3 separate regions of the Homo sapiens genome follow, and regions 2 and 3 are each linked to region 1. The links are contacts of gene promoters, found by promoter capture Hi-C in blood cells and fetal thymus (Javierre and others, 2016). All regions are on one chromosome and are shown on one strand. The core of a region is centred on a gene start or on the middle of the fragment in contact, and the rest is flanking DNA. Distances in the headings are between cores, read along the strand shown.

The links. The method cuts DNA at HindIII sites, captures the fragments that hold promoters and counts their contacts. A CHiCAGO score of 5 or more calls a contact.
Region 2: the fragment with the promoter of CSPG5 here is called in contact with the fragment with the promoter of DHX30 in region 1 in 3 of 17 cell types (endothelial precursors, M0 macrophages and erythroblasts); the score reaches 6.7 in endothelial precursors.
Region 3: a contact is called between a fragment that was not itself captured here and the fragment with the promoter of DHX30 in region 1, in 1 of 17 cell types (megakaryocytes). The highest score is 6.4, in megakaryocytes.

Annotation. Positions count from the first base shown.
Region 1 is chr3:47,801,130-47,805,732 of GRCh38, forward strand. It overlaps DHX30 (DExH-box helicase 30), which reads left to right and starts at 2,009. Exons shown (of 22, transcript NM_138615.3): 1 at 2,009-2,083; 2 at 4,197-4,291. RefSeq lists silencers at 1,580-2,429, 3,607-3,803 and an enhancer at 2,154-2,679. The HindIII fragment of the contact is 8,641 bases long and covers 313-4,603 here.
Region 2 is chr3:47,576,349-47,580,951 of GRCh38, forward strand. CSPG5 (chondroitin sulfate proteoglycan 5) reads right to left here and starts at 2,517. Exons shown (of 5, transcript NM_006574.4): 1 at 2,249-2,517; 2 at 485-1,580. The coding sequence starts at 2,345. RefSeq lists silencers at 1-125, 1,728-1,817, 1,868-1,927, 1,968-2,017 and an enhancer at 3,142-3,846. The HindIII fragment of the contact is 13,333 bases long and covers 1-4,603 here.
Region 3 is chr3:47,991,808-47,996,410 of GRCh38, forward strand. The region is part of intron 2 of MAP4 (microtubule associated protein 4); the gene reads right to left. Among named protein-coding and RNA genes, the nearest start is that of MAP4, 22 kb to the right of the region's middle. The HindIII fragment of the contact is 1,290 bases long and covers 2,097-3,386 here.

The DNA of each region.
Region 1 (4,603 bases), core at 759-3,258:
TGGCCAACATGGTGAAACCATCCCTAGTAAAAATACAAAAATGAGCTGGGCATGGTAGTGCACACCTGTAATTCCAGCTACTTGGGAGGCTGAGGCAGGAGAATCGCTTGAACGTGGGAGGTAGAGGTTGCAGTGAGCCGCAACCACCCCACTGCACTCCAGCCTGGGTGACTGAGTAGAGACTCTGTCTCAACAACAACAAAAAAGTGCAGTATTTTACTCTCCTAATAATTTTTTAAATGTCTTACCAAAAAAAGTAAAAATTCCTTAGTATGGCACTCCCCAACAGTTTTTCAGTTCTATTTCCTGTAAAGCTTGCACACACATCCAACCCTGTGGTCACACTGAACTACTGAATATTCCTAGGATTTGTCCCTTGTTCCACTCGTATGTCTTTGTTCACGTTCCTTTCATTTTGCCATTCAGGAGTAACCACTCCTTTCTCTGAACTCTTGGAGTACCTAATACCTCCTTTCCAGCATTTACCACTTTCCATTTCCTTCACACAATGTTGTCATCTTCTCTACTAGGCTCTAAGTCCCTTGAGGCAGGGCCTTTGTAGCCTCCACACCAGCTTAGCAACTGATACACAGAGCACTCAGATGTCCGTGCAGGGATCTCTCTATTCTCCACACAACACAGCACCATGCCCTGTTCAGATGCACTAATTATTTGAATGAATAAATGATGTTCCACCCCCACACCCCGGTCTTCTAGCCAATGTAGAGAGAAAGAAAAGAGATACATGTTGAACTGTTTGCACACAAAAGTGACGGGATATGGCACTAATTCTTCATACAGCCTCAAAGGTCACATCTTTTTTTTTTTTTTTTTTTAAGTTTCATTCTTGTCGCCCAGGCTGGAGTTCAATGACACGATCTCGGCTTACTGCAACATCCGCCTCCCGGGTTCAAGTGATTCTCCTGCCTCAGCCTCCCGAAGTAGCTAGGATTATATGCGCCCGCCACCACGCCCAGCTAATTTTTTTGCATTTTTAGTTGAGACGGGGTTTCACCATGTTGGCCAGGCTGGTTTTGAACTCCTGACCGCAGGTGATCCACCCGCCTTGGCCTCCCAAAGTGCTGGGATTACAGGCGTGAGCCACCACGCCCGGCCTAAAGGCCACATCTTAAAACCATACTCTGTAAAATCCTGACCCAGCTTCAGAGCTACGCCACTGCGTTGTTTCCTTTTGAAGCTGAATTCCACTGAACCTATACTTGAACCTTATCTAGAGGACTACAGCGTGTAATTGGGACAATCCCCTTTCTCATTCCTAAGAGGTGATGTGGCCGGGCGGACCTCCAGATTTCCAGCAACTATGACTGGCACTCTCCCCGCGACCAGCAAGTGCCACCTTGTCCTTTGCCTAACGTTGTACAGTTTACGAAATCAACGAACCAACACGTTGATTTCATCTTCCCTGCAAACTGGGGAGACAAGACAAAAATGCTCACCTCCCTAAAAAAACAGATTAGAGGGGAGATGGGGAAGAGAAGAGGCGTGGCTACGAGCTGTGGCGGGGAAGGCGGGTGGAATCCCGGAGCCCGAGCTGGAAACCGTTCCCCGCTCAGCCATGACCCGGGCTGTTTATTCGCATCAGGAGGCGCGGGTGGCTCGCAGAGGGCGAGAAGACCCTTCCCGCTTTCACACTGCAGGCAGCTAAGTCGCCGAGAAAGGCAGCAACTTGACGCCCGACCCCGCCACCCAAACCCGCTCGCTCTGCGACCCCAGAGCAGCCGGCGCCAACCCGTCCCCTTCGCGACTCCGCCGGAAGTCCCGCCTGCACCGCCGCCGCGCCCCATTGGGCCGGGTGCTGGGGCATCCCGGGCGCTGGGTGCCCCGAGCGGCTACGACGAGTCCCAGGTGGGGCCGGGCTCCAGGCCCGCGGGGGAGCGGAGCCGTGCGCCGCAGGCGGGCTCCGTGACGCCGGGTGGGGAACGCCGGGCCGGTGGCGGGACTTCCGCCACGGGACTCGGAAGGGGCCGCGCCGCCGCTGCTGGGAGTTGTAGTCCGGCCGTGGTTGGGGGAGCCGCGGCTCATGCGCGGTGCACAGAGGCTTGTTTCACATCTGTAACAACAGGTGAATTGGGCTTTTTATTCTCCCCTTTCGTGCCCTCTTGAGGAGCCTGCCGCGGCCGGGGGTGGTCGTCGTGAGGAGGGGGCCCGGTCCGACCGCCAGCCTGGCGGAGAGTGGGGCGGAGACGCCGGCGGGCCCGAGGAGCAGGCCGGGCATCCTAGGCCTGCCCGGGAAGCCGGCCCGGCCGATCCGTGGGCAGCCAGGCCTCGGCCTGCCGTTGCCATGGAGCCCGGGCGGGGGCGGGGGCCAGACCGGTCCGCCGGGGCGGGCCTCGCAGCCAGGGGCTCCGCGGAGGCCGTGGGAGAGGCCGCTTCATTGGCGCAACGACGCCTTCGCCTCGGGATGCGCCGTTTCCCCAGGCAGGGCCTGGAGGAAGCCTCCTGAGTGCCCCGAGACCTTTGTCTACTTCTCCTCCTTCCCGGTGCTGCCCGGACCGTTCGTCCAGAGGGAGGCCCGGTGCCTTCTGGCCCCCCTAGTTTGCCCCCTTTTGCACCGACCTTGTCACTGGGGGAGGCCAAGGGGTGAGGTATTCTTTGTTTGCTGGTGGTAACTTGTCCCATTTAGCAGGGGAAGACCAAATGCATGTTGGGTCCTTTGTTTGCAGTGAACTGGAGTCCCAGGGGTCCTCAGAAACCCTAAGCCAGGGATATGGCATATCTAGTCGTTGTGTAGCAACATTGGTCACTTGAATTATGATTTTTCAAGGCAGAGGCTGTTTCACTTTACAACCCCACTCCATGAGGGTTTGCCATACACTAGCAGGTAGACTGCAGAAGGCCACTTACAGGCTTTCAACCTGGTTTTAGTTGCAGCTTATGGGCCAGAGTGAAATGAGACGTTGTCTGGTGATTTCCCTTGAAGTTTCTTGCAAGGTGGTAACCCCACTGTCATTGTGGGTTTTAACTACATCTTGTAATTTACACTTAAATCTTAGAGATTTAAGGCGATGTGCAGAAACTACATCCTTTGCTGCGTTTTCTACCGGTGTTGGCTCTTTATCCCTAAAAGATAGTTGCTCTTCAAGTGTTTTAATTTATGTAGCTGTGATACAAAGTTTTATTAGGGCCGGGAGCGGTGTCTCACGCCTGTAATCCCAGCACTTTGGGAGGCCGAGGCGGGTGGATCACCTGAGGTCAGAAGTTTGAGACCAGCCTGGCCAACATGGCTAGACCTCGTTTCTACTAAAAATACAAAAATTAGCCGGGCATGGTGGCGTGCGCCTGTAACCCTAGCTACTTGGGAGGCTGAGGCAAGAGAATTGCTTGAACCCAGGAGGCCGAGGTTGCAGTGAGCCAAGATCGCGCCATTTCACCCCAGCCTGGGCAACAAGAGCGAAACTCCTTCTCAAAACAAAACAAAACAAAAACCACACACAAGTTTTATTAGCTGTTGGACCTTTCTTGCCCCTTTCAGCCTTTGAAGATAACAGTATAATATGTCTCAAGGAATGAACCGTAGTACATTTAGGCAACAGCATAATATCCTGGAAATAAGAAAATTAGCCTAGTATAAGCATGGAGGGTTTTGGAGTCAGCATGCTTCAATGCTGATTTCCATCTGCCCTGAGGCAGCTATGGGATCTTGGGCAGGTTGTGTAACCTGTGCTTCAGTTTTCTTCTCTGGAAAGATAATTCCTACCTCACTGGATAGTTGCCTGGATTAAATGGGGTAAAGTCTATGGAAGTATGTTGTGAACTGTAAAAATGGTATTCAACTTTGAGTTATTGTTATTTTCCCAATCTTGAAGAGTATTATAGCTTCTTTATGTTAGATTATCATAATTATTATGGGATTAGAACTCAAAGTGGAAGTAGGTTTTGCTCTGGGCTTCCAGAAAATGCTTTTCAGGCTTACAAGGCTTTCTTTACCTTGACATCTTCTTAGATGATGTCAGAAGACTTCAGCACTTCTACAGGTGCTGGTGTAGGACAGCTTACAATTTAATGGGCCTAGAATGGGTCATGGTAAGTCCTGATTTGTAAGGCCATTTTGTCCAGTATGTGCCCTTCATGCCACTAACAAAATTTGTCCTTGTTAGAGCTAGTAAATGATGGTTGGAGCAACTTTCTTTCCCTATGGGGCCTCCACTGTATTGACTCAGCGTTGTACTTCTCAGGAGGAGGCCCAGCCTCGTGATGAGGAATAGCAAGGAGAGAATTCAGCTCCAGTTCAAAAGCCTACAAAATCTGAGACTGTCATTGCTTTTATAAGGTAAGTTGATTTAGCCGTGCACAGAGCAGTGGTGGATCTGATGCTCAGCTGTACTGTAAAACAAGAGGTATGTGTTAAACCTATTTCTGACCATTTTGGAAGAAGGATATCATTTATTTTATTTTGTTTTATTTTTGAGACAGAGTCTCGCTTTGTCCCCCAGGCTGGAGTGCAGTGGCGCGATCTTGGCTTGCTGCAACCTCTGCCTCCCAGGTTCAAGCAATTCTCCTGTCTCAGCCTCCCAAGTAGCTGAGATTACAGGCGCCTGCCACCATGCCCAGCTGATTGTTTTGTATTTTTAGTAGAGACTGG
Region 2 (4,603 bases), core at 1,267-3,766, 220 kb before region 1:
TACCAAGTAATTCTGTAGAAGAAGCCTGAGTGAACATTTCTCCACCTGGGAATCCTGCGACTGTACAACCTCTTGCAAGTTGTGCCTGTCACGCTGCCCTCTGTTTTGTTTTGTTTTTTTTTTTTTTTGAGATGGAGTTTCACTTTGTCACCCAGGCTGGAGGGCAGTGGCACGATCTTGGCTCACTGCAACCTCCACCCTCCGGGTTCAAATGATTCTCCTTCCTCAGCCTCCTGAGTAGCTGGGACTACAGGTGCCTGCCACCGCGCCCAGCTAATTTTTTGTATTTTTAGTAGAGATGGGGTTTCACCAACTTGGCCAGGCTGGTCTTGAACTCCTGACCTTAGGAGATCCGCCTGCCTCAGCCTCCCAAAGTGCTGGGATTACAGGCGTGAGCCAACGCGCCCGGCTACGCTGCCCTCTGTTGAGTCGGCCTCACATACACTCTTCAGTGTCCCTATGCACCTGCCTGCCATGCCCTTACCTGCAGAAGGCCCCTATGTTCTCCACCAGGTAGCACTGGCCGCCATTGTGACAGTAACTTGGGAAGAGGTCGCACACTGACCGGCAGGAGCCGTTATGCCGCACAAAGCCACTGCGGCACTCAGTGCCATTTTCACTGGAGGCCAAGTCCCTGCCTGGCTCTCCTGGGCGGGGCCTGAGGGCGATGCTGCTGCCGGGGACCGACCCCAGAGTGTGCTGTGGAGGGACAGCATGCCACCGACTGGTGGGCTGGCCTGTCCCGGGCCCCAGACCAGGCTTCCCAGTGGGCACTAGAAGCTCATTTTCATCTTCTAGGTCTCCACCTCCTACTGCATCTTTGTCATCCTCCTCTTCCTCCTCCTCTTCATCCAAGTCATCATAAAAGGATGTGGTGGGGTAGAAATCAGATTCATCGAAGGGGGTGAAATCATCGTATAAGTCAAGCAGGCTCCAGGAAGGGGTCTCTCCCTCAGTATCAGGGTGGTTCTCTGAGGTTCCTGGTGACCCTGGGAAGCTCCCCAGATCTGCGCCACGACCCTCACCATCCAGTCCTTCGAAGTAGTCGATGTCAATGATATCTGATGCCGGTTGGGGCTCCAGGGTGCCCTGAAATGGGTAAGTCAGCTCTGGCCCTTGAGGGTCGGGTGTGCTGCCCCCCAGGTTCAGCCAAACCTCCAAGGGGCTCTCCTTGGGGAGTTCAGAAGCTGGGCTCAGCTTGTCGCCGGGGGTGGGGGAGGGTGGCCCGCTGGCCTCTGTAGCCTCAGGAATGGCAGGGGGCATGATTGACTGCCCGAGGACCTCGTGGGGAGCCTGGAGCGTAGCTGGAAGGGCCTGGGCATCGCCGCTGCCCGCCTCTGCGGTCACTCCTCCCAGGCCTGGGCTGTCAGCTTCCAGCCAGGCGGTGCCGGTCACCGCAGCCGACTCCTGCAGCACCTCTTCTGGCCCGGCCAGCTCGCCACCGGGCGCCGTCCACGACGCCTCATCTTCCCCAGCCGCTGGTGGGCCGGCTTCTTCCCGCGTGTCGTTGGCAGGCGGCTCCCACGCCGGGCTGCCCTTCACCAGCTCTTCGGCCTCAACCGCGCTGCCCGCCTCACGCGCTGCGGGCGGGAGGGCAAGGGGCGGGACGTCAGGGCGGCGCGCTGAGGAGCCCTGGAGCCCCGGCCCGCCCCGGTCAGGCCCGCTCGCCTAGACCTGGTCAACCCAGACCTCGCCACCCTCAGACCCCACCGCCCCAGTGTGACCCCAGCCACCCGGTACCTCTAAGCCCCGTCCCGGAGTCTGCCCCCAAGACGAGGATCACACCCCGCCCAACGCCTCGCGGCTCGGCCCCGCCCGACCTGCCCCGCCGTCTGAAGAGCCAGGCCAGGGCGGCCCCCAGCTCGGCCCACCCATAAGTCTCACCCTCGGGAACCCACCCTGAGCCGCGTCCACTGGCTCCCGCCCTCAGCTCCAGGTCCCGCCCCGAAGTCTCACCCTCAGGCCCCGCCCCGGCCCCGCCCCGGCCCCGCCCCCGGCCCCGCCCCCAGTCCGCACCGCGGCCCGCGCGCTTGGGTCCCGGCTACCCCAACCGGGGTCGGCCCCCACGCGGGTCGGCCTTTCCCGGACCCCCACCACCTCCTGGGACCATTCCGCCGCCCGGCCGCGGCCAGGCGGTGCCCCGCCCCCTTGCCACAGCTCACAGCTCCACCTGTCCCCGCCGCCAGCGGGACCCCTGCCCTGGGTGGGGCACGAGGGCCGCGGGGGTCCCGGGCGCAGTCATACCTACCCGGCACGGCCCCAGAGGCCAGGACCAGCGCGGCCCCCAGAAACAGCAGCAGTGGCGGCGGCCCCCGGCCCGGGCCCCCGCCCCCGGCTCGCCCCATGGCGCGGCGCCCCGACCGCTGTCCGCGGTCCGCCCGGCTGGCTGCGCCCTCGGCTCGCCCGGCCGCCGCGCCTCCCGCCGGTTCTGCGGCCGCCTCAGCCCACGATGGGCAGCGCGAGGAGCCGCATGCCGCCGCCGCCGCCGTCCGCCGCTGTCCCCGGCGCGCCGCGCCTCCCCGCCTCCCGCGCCGCCGCTGCCGCCGCTGCGCTCAGCGCCGCCCTCACCCCGCCCGCCGCGCCGGCCCCGCCGCACGTAGCGGTGACGCCGGCCCCTTGGTCAGCCTGCCAGGGGAACAGACAGACCCCTCGCTGGGGACTAGGAGACACACGGACGGGGAGTGCGGGGCAGGCGGACGGGGAGCGCGAGGCAGGCGCACGGCGCGGCGCGCGGCGTTAGGCGGCAGGTGCACGGGCGGGAGACCTGTGGGATGGGGCCACGGTCCCGCCCCAGGTGAACAGGCGGCACGGGGCCCCGACCCGGAGGAACCCACCCGCCACGCGGCAAGCACGGAGGCGGGGACGTCGCGGGCCCAGTTACCCGCAGGGTCGGGGCGGGGTCCAGAAGAGCCGCAGGGGGCGGAAGCACGAGCCCCCACTGTGGAAACAAGCCAGGCCCGGGGCGCATGGAGCCTCTCGGATTCTGCACCAATCCCGTGTTCCGGGCGGGAAGGCTCTCAGGGAGGTCTCCGGGTCTCCACGAGGGAGGGGCGGGCGTTGGCAGAGCCTGGCAAGGGGGCGAAGCCGACCGCCCAGGCTCTAATCGGATCAGATCTAATCCGTTCGCAGCCAAAGCCACTAGCCTAGATCTCGCACAGCCAGGCCCGCCATAACGCATCCCGGGAGCAAGGGGTAAGACCCTCCCTGGGACTGCGGCTACCTCGCCTTCCTTCTAGTCTCCGGGCAGCCTGGGGAGCGGCCTTTAATCCTGGTCCCTTCTCCGGGATACGTCGTCCCCCAGGTGTCTCAGACCACCAAAACTCAGGTTCCTGGGTAGACCAGGGGGGTCTAGATCCCCAGCCGGGCACACATGGATGCTTGGCTTTAGAGTGATCTGTGGGGCCCATTCACAGCTTCAGGGCTCACAGGGCAACCCAAGACCACGCACCAGGAGGTCTGCTTAGTCGGCAGGAGGAACCGCAACCTAGTTACTTAGTTTATTCCCCCAAACCGACCGTCTACCCCTTAATGTGTTACTCACCCAAATGACAGTTCAGGGTATCAGCCCAAGGAGATAGGACAACTCCAGTATTTAAGAGACGGTCCCATTGCTGTCTTAGAAGACCAAATAAGTGACCAAGATGGAGATTCTATCTCCTAATCTTTCTGATACATATCTCCAGATGGAGTTGCCTTGGTTCAAAACCTGTTTCTCAGCAGAACTATGGCTGCAGCCTATTTGCCTAGCCTAGCGTCTCCACCTCTCCTGCCTGGTAAACTCCTCATGCCAGAAAAACTCAGTTCTTATCACCTTTCCCTCTATGAAGGCTTCTCAGCAGTTACACTTAATGCCCATCATCTCATCTTATCTACAGTTATTCCTCACTGGACTGCAAGGCACTTGAGTGCACAGGGCTGGTAACAGAGGGAGGCTCCATATCAGACAGGCATAAATGAACGAATGGCAACCACCCACACCCATCCCAGAACTGTGGTCTGGAGAGCCTTGAAAAAAGGGGTAAGGCTCTTTCTTTCATAGTTTCATGCTGCCTCCGGGGACCAAGTAAAATATGTTTGAAACAATAGCCTTCTCTAAACAGGGGACCATGTAGGGCTTTGCACTCACCTCAGCCACAGAGGCAGCAACGCACCCTTAACTGCCTCCAACCCATCTCTGCTTCCCTTGTGTGCAGCTTAACTCCTGTCACCTTTTACTGTATGTAGACTCTCTGTGTTCCTTTGCTTGTTTCCTCAACTCGGGTTGTGGCTGTCAGAGCGGCCTACCTCCTCCTTCCCTTCCTGAGGCCAGTCTGTGTGGGAAGACCTCATGGATGGGTTCCTTGATGTCTGGGGCATGACAACCACTCACACATTTTCAACAGGGTTTAATGGAGGAAGTTCTCCCACTCATTTTAAATATATTTTGTTAATTATTTAAGTATCTTCTTCTTCCCTTTCCTGGAGATGAAGTCTGCTAACGCTTCCTTCAATTTGGAATTTTTTTTTTTTGTTGAGACAGAGTCTCACTCTGTCACCCAGACTAGAGTGCAATGGTGTGATATTGACTCACTGCAACCTCTGCCTCCTGGGTTCAAGTGATTCT
Region 3 (4,603 bases), core at 1,492-3,991, 190 kb after region 1:
ACAGGTGCCCACCACCACGCCCAGCTAATTTTTTTGTGTTTTTAGTAGAGACAGGGTTTCACCATGTTAGCCAGGCTGGTCTCGAACTCCTGACCTCAGGTGATCCACCCGCCTCAGCCTCCCAAAGTGCTGGGATTATAGGCGTGAACCACCGCGCCCAGTAAGACCCTGTCTTCAAAAAAAAAAAAAGTGTCAGCAATCAGCAGTAGTTTACTGAACCTCATCTAAGAACAAAATCAAACTTAAAGTTAGATGTATAATAAAACATTAATGAAGTCTAGGGCCCTTCCATCACTTCTAAAGATGTATTCAGAAGAACATCTTGTTTAGAATGTTCTCCAGGAAAAACACAAATATGAAACCTGTCATTATGGCAAAAACCATCAGTCCGATAATGTATAAAAATCAGACCCACAGCAGAGAAGTCTCCATTCATAAAGAACTCACTAATTGCACCAGATTTCTACAAGACTAAATAAGGCGGCTTCCTTCGTTTTTCTTATTTGATGTCTCCAAACAGCCATCACCCCTTCCTTTAAGTTAAGACTTCTACAACTTTTAGGAAGCTGGTATGGAAAAAATGTAGTAATTTACAACCTATCATAATTATAAACTTTATTATTATTATTATTTTTAGAGACGGGGTCTCTCTCTGTCACCCAGGCTGCAGCACAGTGGTGCTTTTATGGCTCACTGCAGCCTCGACCTCTGGGGCTCAAGTGATTGCCTCCTACCTCAGCTTCCTGTGTAGCTCGGACTACAGGCGCACACTACCACGCCCAGCTATAATTATAAACTTTAAACATGGTATCTTCAACAAGTTCGTGGAAAATGCATTCTATGAAAAAATTATTCATGGATTTCAAGGGAGTTTTTTTGTATCAAAATAACTCATACTCCAGCCTGACCAATATGGCGAAACCCCATCTCTACTAAAAATACAAAAATTAGCTGGGCATGGTAGCATGTGCCTATAAGCCCAGCTACTCAGGAGGCTGAGGCAGGAGAATCTCTTGAACACAGGAGGTAGAGGTTGCAGTGAGCCGAGACTGTGCCACCGCACTCCAGCCTGGGTGACAGAGAGACACTCCATCTTAAAAAAAAAAAAAAAAAGCTCATACTAACTTGTTATAACACGTCTGAACAGGATCTAGTTTGAAGCACTAAAAAGGATAAAACATCAGTTTGAAAAGAGCCCCTAATAAAGCAACATGAATTCTGCTAAAATTGAAGCAAAAGCAAATGGTAAATTTATGGTGAAGCTTGGATGAAAGAATGGTGAAATCACTGATGCTTTGTGTAAAGTTTATGGGGACAATGCCCCAAACAAATCAGTAGTTTACACATGAATAACTTGTTTTAAGACATCAGCCAGATGCAGTGGTCCGCACCTATAGTCCCAGCTACTTGGAAGGCTGAGACAGGAGGATCACTTGAGCCCAGGAGTTCAAGGCTGTAGTGTGCTATGGTTACACCTGTAAATAGTCACTATACTCTAATTTGGGCAATGTAGTAAGACTCTGTCTCAAAAAAAGAAAAAAAATAAAGGAGGAGATGATGTTGAAGATGAAGCCCACCGTGGCAGACCACCAATATCAATTTGAGAGGAAAAAAGAATGATCTAATTGAAGAGGATTGACAATTAGCAGAAACAATAGCCAATACCACAGACATCTCAATTGGTTCAGTTTATACAATTTTGGCTGATAAATTAAAATTGAGCAAACTTTCCACTCAACTGGTGCCAAAATGGTTGCATCCAGATGAGCTGCAAAGAGCAGAGCTTTCGATGTAAATTTTAAACAAGTGGGATCAAGATCCTGAAGCATTTCTTTGAAGAATTGTAACAGGAGATGAAATATGGTTTTACCAGTATAATCCTAAAGACAAAGCACAATCAAAGCAATGGCTACCAAGAGGCGTAAGTGCTGTAGTCAAAGCAAAAGTGGATCAGTCAAGAGCAAACACAAGAGTTTTTTAGGATGCTCAAAGCACTTTGTCTGTTGACTTTCTGGAGAGCCAAAGAATGACAACATCTTATTATGAGGGTGTTTTGAGAAAGTCAGCCAATGCTTTAGCAGAAAAACAGCCAGGAAAGCTTCATCAGAGAGTCCTTCTCCACCAGGACAATGCTCCTGTTCATTCCTTTCATCAACAAAGATAATTTGTGACAGTTTTGATGAGAAATCATTAGGCAACCACCTTACAACAGTCCTGATTTGGTTCCTTCTTTTTTGTTTCCTAATCTTTAAAAAAATCTTTGGTAGCAACAAAAAATTAAAAACTTAAACCAAAAAAAACTTTAAAGGGCATCCATTTTTCTTCATTTCTTCATTTTTCTTCATTTAATAATGTAAAAAAGCCAGGCACAGTGGCTCACACCTATAATCCCAGCACAAAAGAAAAACAAATATTTACTCCAAAAAATTTGGATTCCTTAATGGAAAACGGGAAAATCTATTCTCTCTTAATCCATAATGCACGGTGGAGACATTTGTTCTTTGACTGACTAACATAAACAAAGAAAACCTAGTATGAAGAAAGGAATGATAAGATGTAAATATGGTAGCAACTAGTCATGGTTGAGATGCTCTTCCCATCCTAATATTAACTTACCCTCATCAGTCATAGGTGAAAGAAGCTAGCTGCTTTTCGTTTTCTAATTTCCTTTAACTGTGCATTGTTTCCATCATCTGGGAATGAGCCTAGGTGGATAAGGACAGTGAGGTGGTAGCAGTAGATTTTCTTGTGCTTCATCTTGAGTTATTTGATCCATGTAACATTAACTTGGCCCAAGAGGAGGAAAGTTTTTAAGACATTATTTTATTTATAAAAAATTAAATCCTCCCTGCTACTTTTGATATGTAAATGGTGGCTCATGCCTGTAATCCCAGCACTTTGGGAGGCCAAGGCAAGTGGATCACCTGAGGTCAGGAGTTTGAGACCAGCCTGGCCAACAGGGCGAAACCCCATCTCTACTAAAAATACAAAAATTAGCCAGGCATGGTGGTGCAGGCCTGTAATCCCAGCTACTGGGGTGTTGAGGCAGGAGGATCGCTTGAACCTGGGAGGCGGAGGATGCAGTGAGCAGAGATCGTGCCACTGCACTCCAGCCTGTGCAATAGAGCGGGACTCCATCTCAAAAAAAAAAAAAAAAAGTTCATTAACTCAGAAAGACTACTCCAGAAATTGGCGAGTGGTTACTCCAGGAAGGAGAACTGTCTGGCTAGGGTGTAGGGATTGGGAGAATTTGTTTTACCGTACATCCCTTTGGACCAATTGGATTTTGTACATGTGTATTTTTTAGCCTGTTCAAAAAATGTATGAGTTTCTGGAAAATTGAATTAAAGGATAAAAATAAAATATGAACTTTACTTCTCAACATAAGCTTTTGCAACATCAAGATACTTTTGTAAGCAATGATAGCAACTTTTTTTCTTTTCTTTTTTTTTTTTTTTTTTGAGACAGAGTCTCGTTCTCTCGCCCAGGCTGGAGTGCAGTGGCACGCTCTCCACTCACTGCCACCTCCGCCTCCCAGGTTCAAGTGATTCTTGTACCTCAGCCTCCTGAGTACCTGGGATTACAGGTGCACACCATTACCCCTGGCTAATTTTTGTATTTTTAGTAGAGGTATGGTTTCACCATGTTGGCCAGGCTGGTCTCAAACTCCTGACCTCAGGTGAGCCACCTGCCTTGGTCTCCCAAAGTGCTGGGATTACAGGCGTGAGCCACTGCACCTGGTCTGGAGTAAATATTTATATGGATATAATTAGAACTCTCGGTACTTTTTTAAATGAGTTGTGGTCTGCCCCCCCTCCCCAACACACAAATTAAACATATATTAAGGAAGCAGGTTTTCTTCTTCCACTTGGCTGTAGAAAGCCAAAAGCAACGTCACTCCCACCCTAACAACAAGAAACAGCCATATCAACTACAAAAAACTTGAATTAATTGGAAAGCCACCTAGTAGTATGAAATCCAAAGAAAAACAAGCCCCTCCAGGAAATATGGGAGGTGAACACCAGCTCTCCTGTATCAGAGCATGTGCAGAAGAGACATTGGGTACCCTACAAGCAGGTAAGAAAAATTCAAGTAAAAATTGTAGTGATTTGTCAAAGGTAAATGAAGGCTAGCATGAGACTATGGGGCCCCTCAAATCCACAGACACAAAGGGAATTCACACTCATTTGCAGGATTGTCTTCACAGATGTCTGCCGCATGCTCACAGGAAAGATTGGAAGCAGGGTGAGGGACCAGACAGAGCCTCCCTCCATGGTACAGACCTGGAGAAGGCCACCACCATTAAGGGAAAAGCATGAACCCCTCCCACTGGGATCTTTCTCTCCTGGGGAAGGAGTACAAACCCTGTCAACCCCAGAGCACACAAGAAGACCGGCTGTAGCTAGGGAAAGAGTAATAGAAACATACTTTATAAACCTGAGAGAGGAGCAAGAAAAACTCCTCATCCAGGATCCTACACCAATACCATGAGAAGACGCTACTACTGTGAAAAGGATAATAACGTTGAGAAAGACCCAAACCGTGAGATTAAGCACAGGATTAAGCACAAAATGGGACAATAAAAAAACAAACTCTGCCTGCC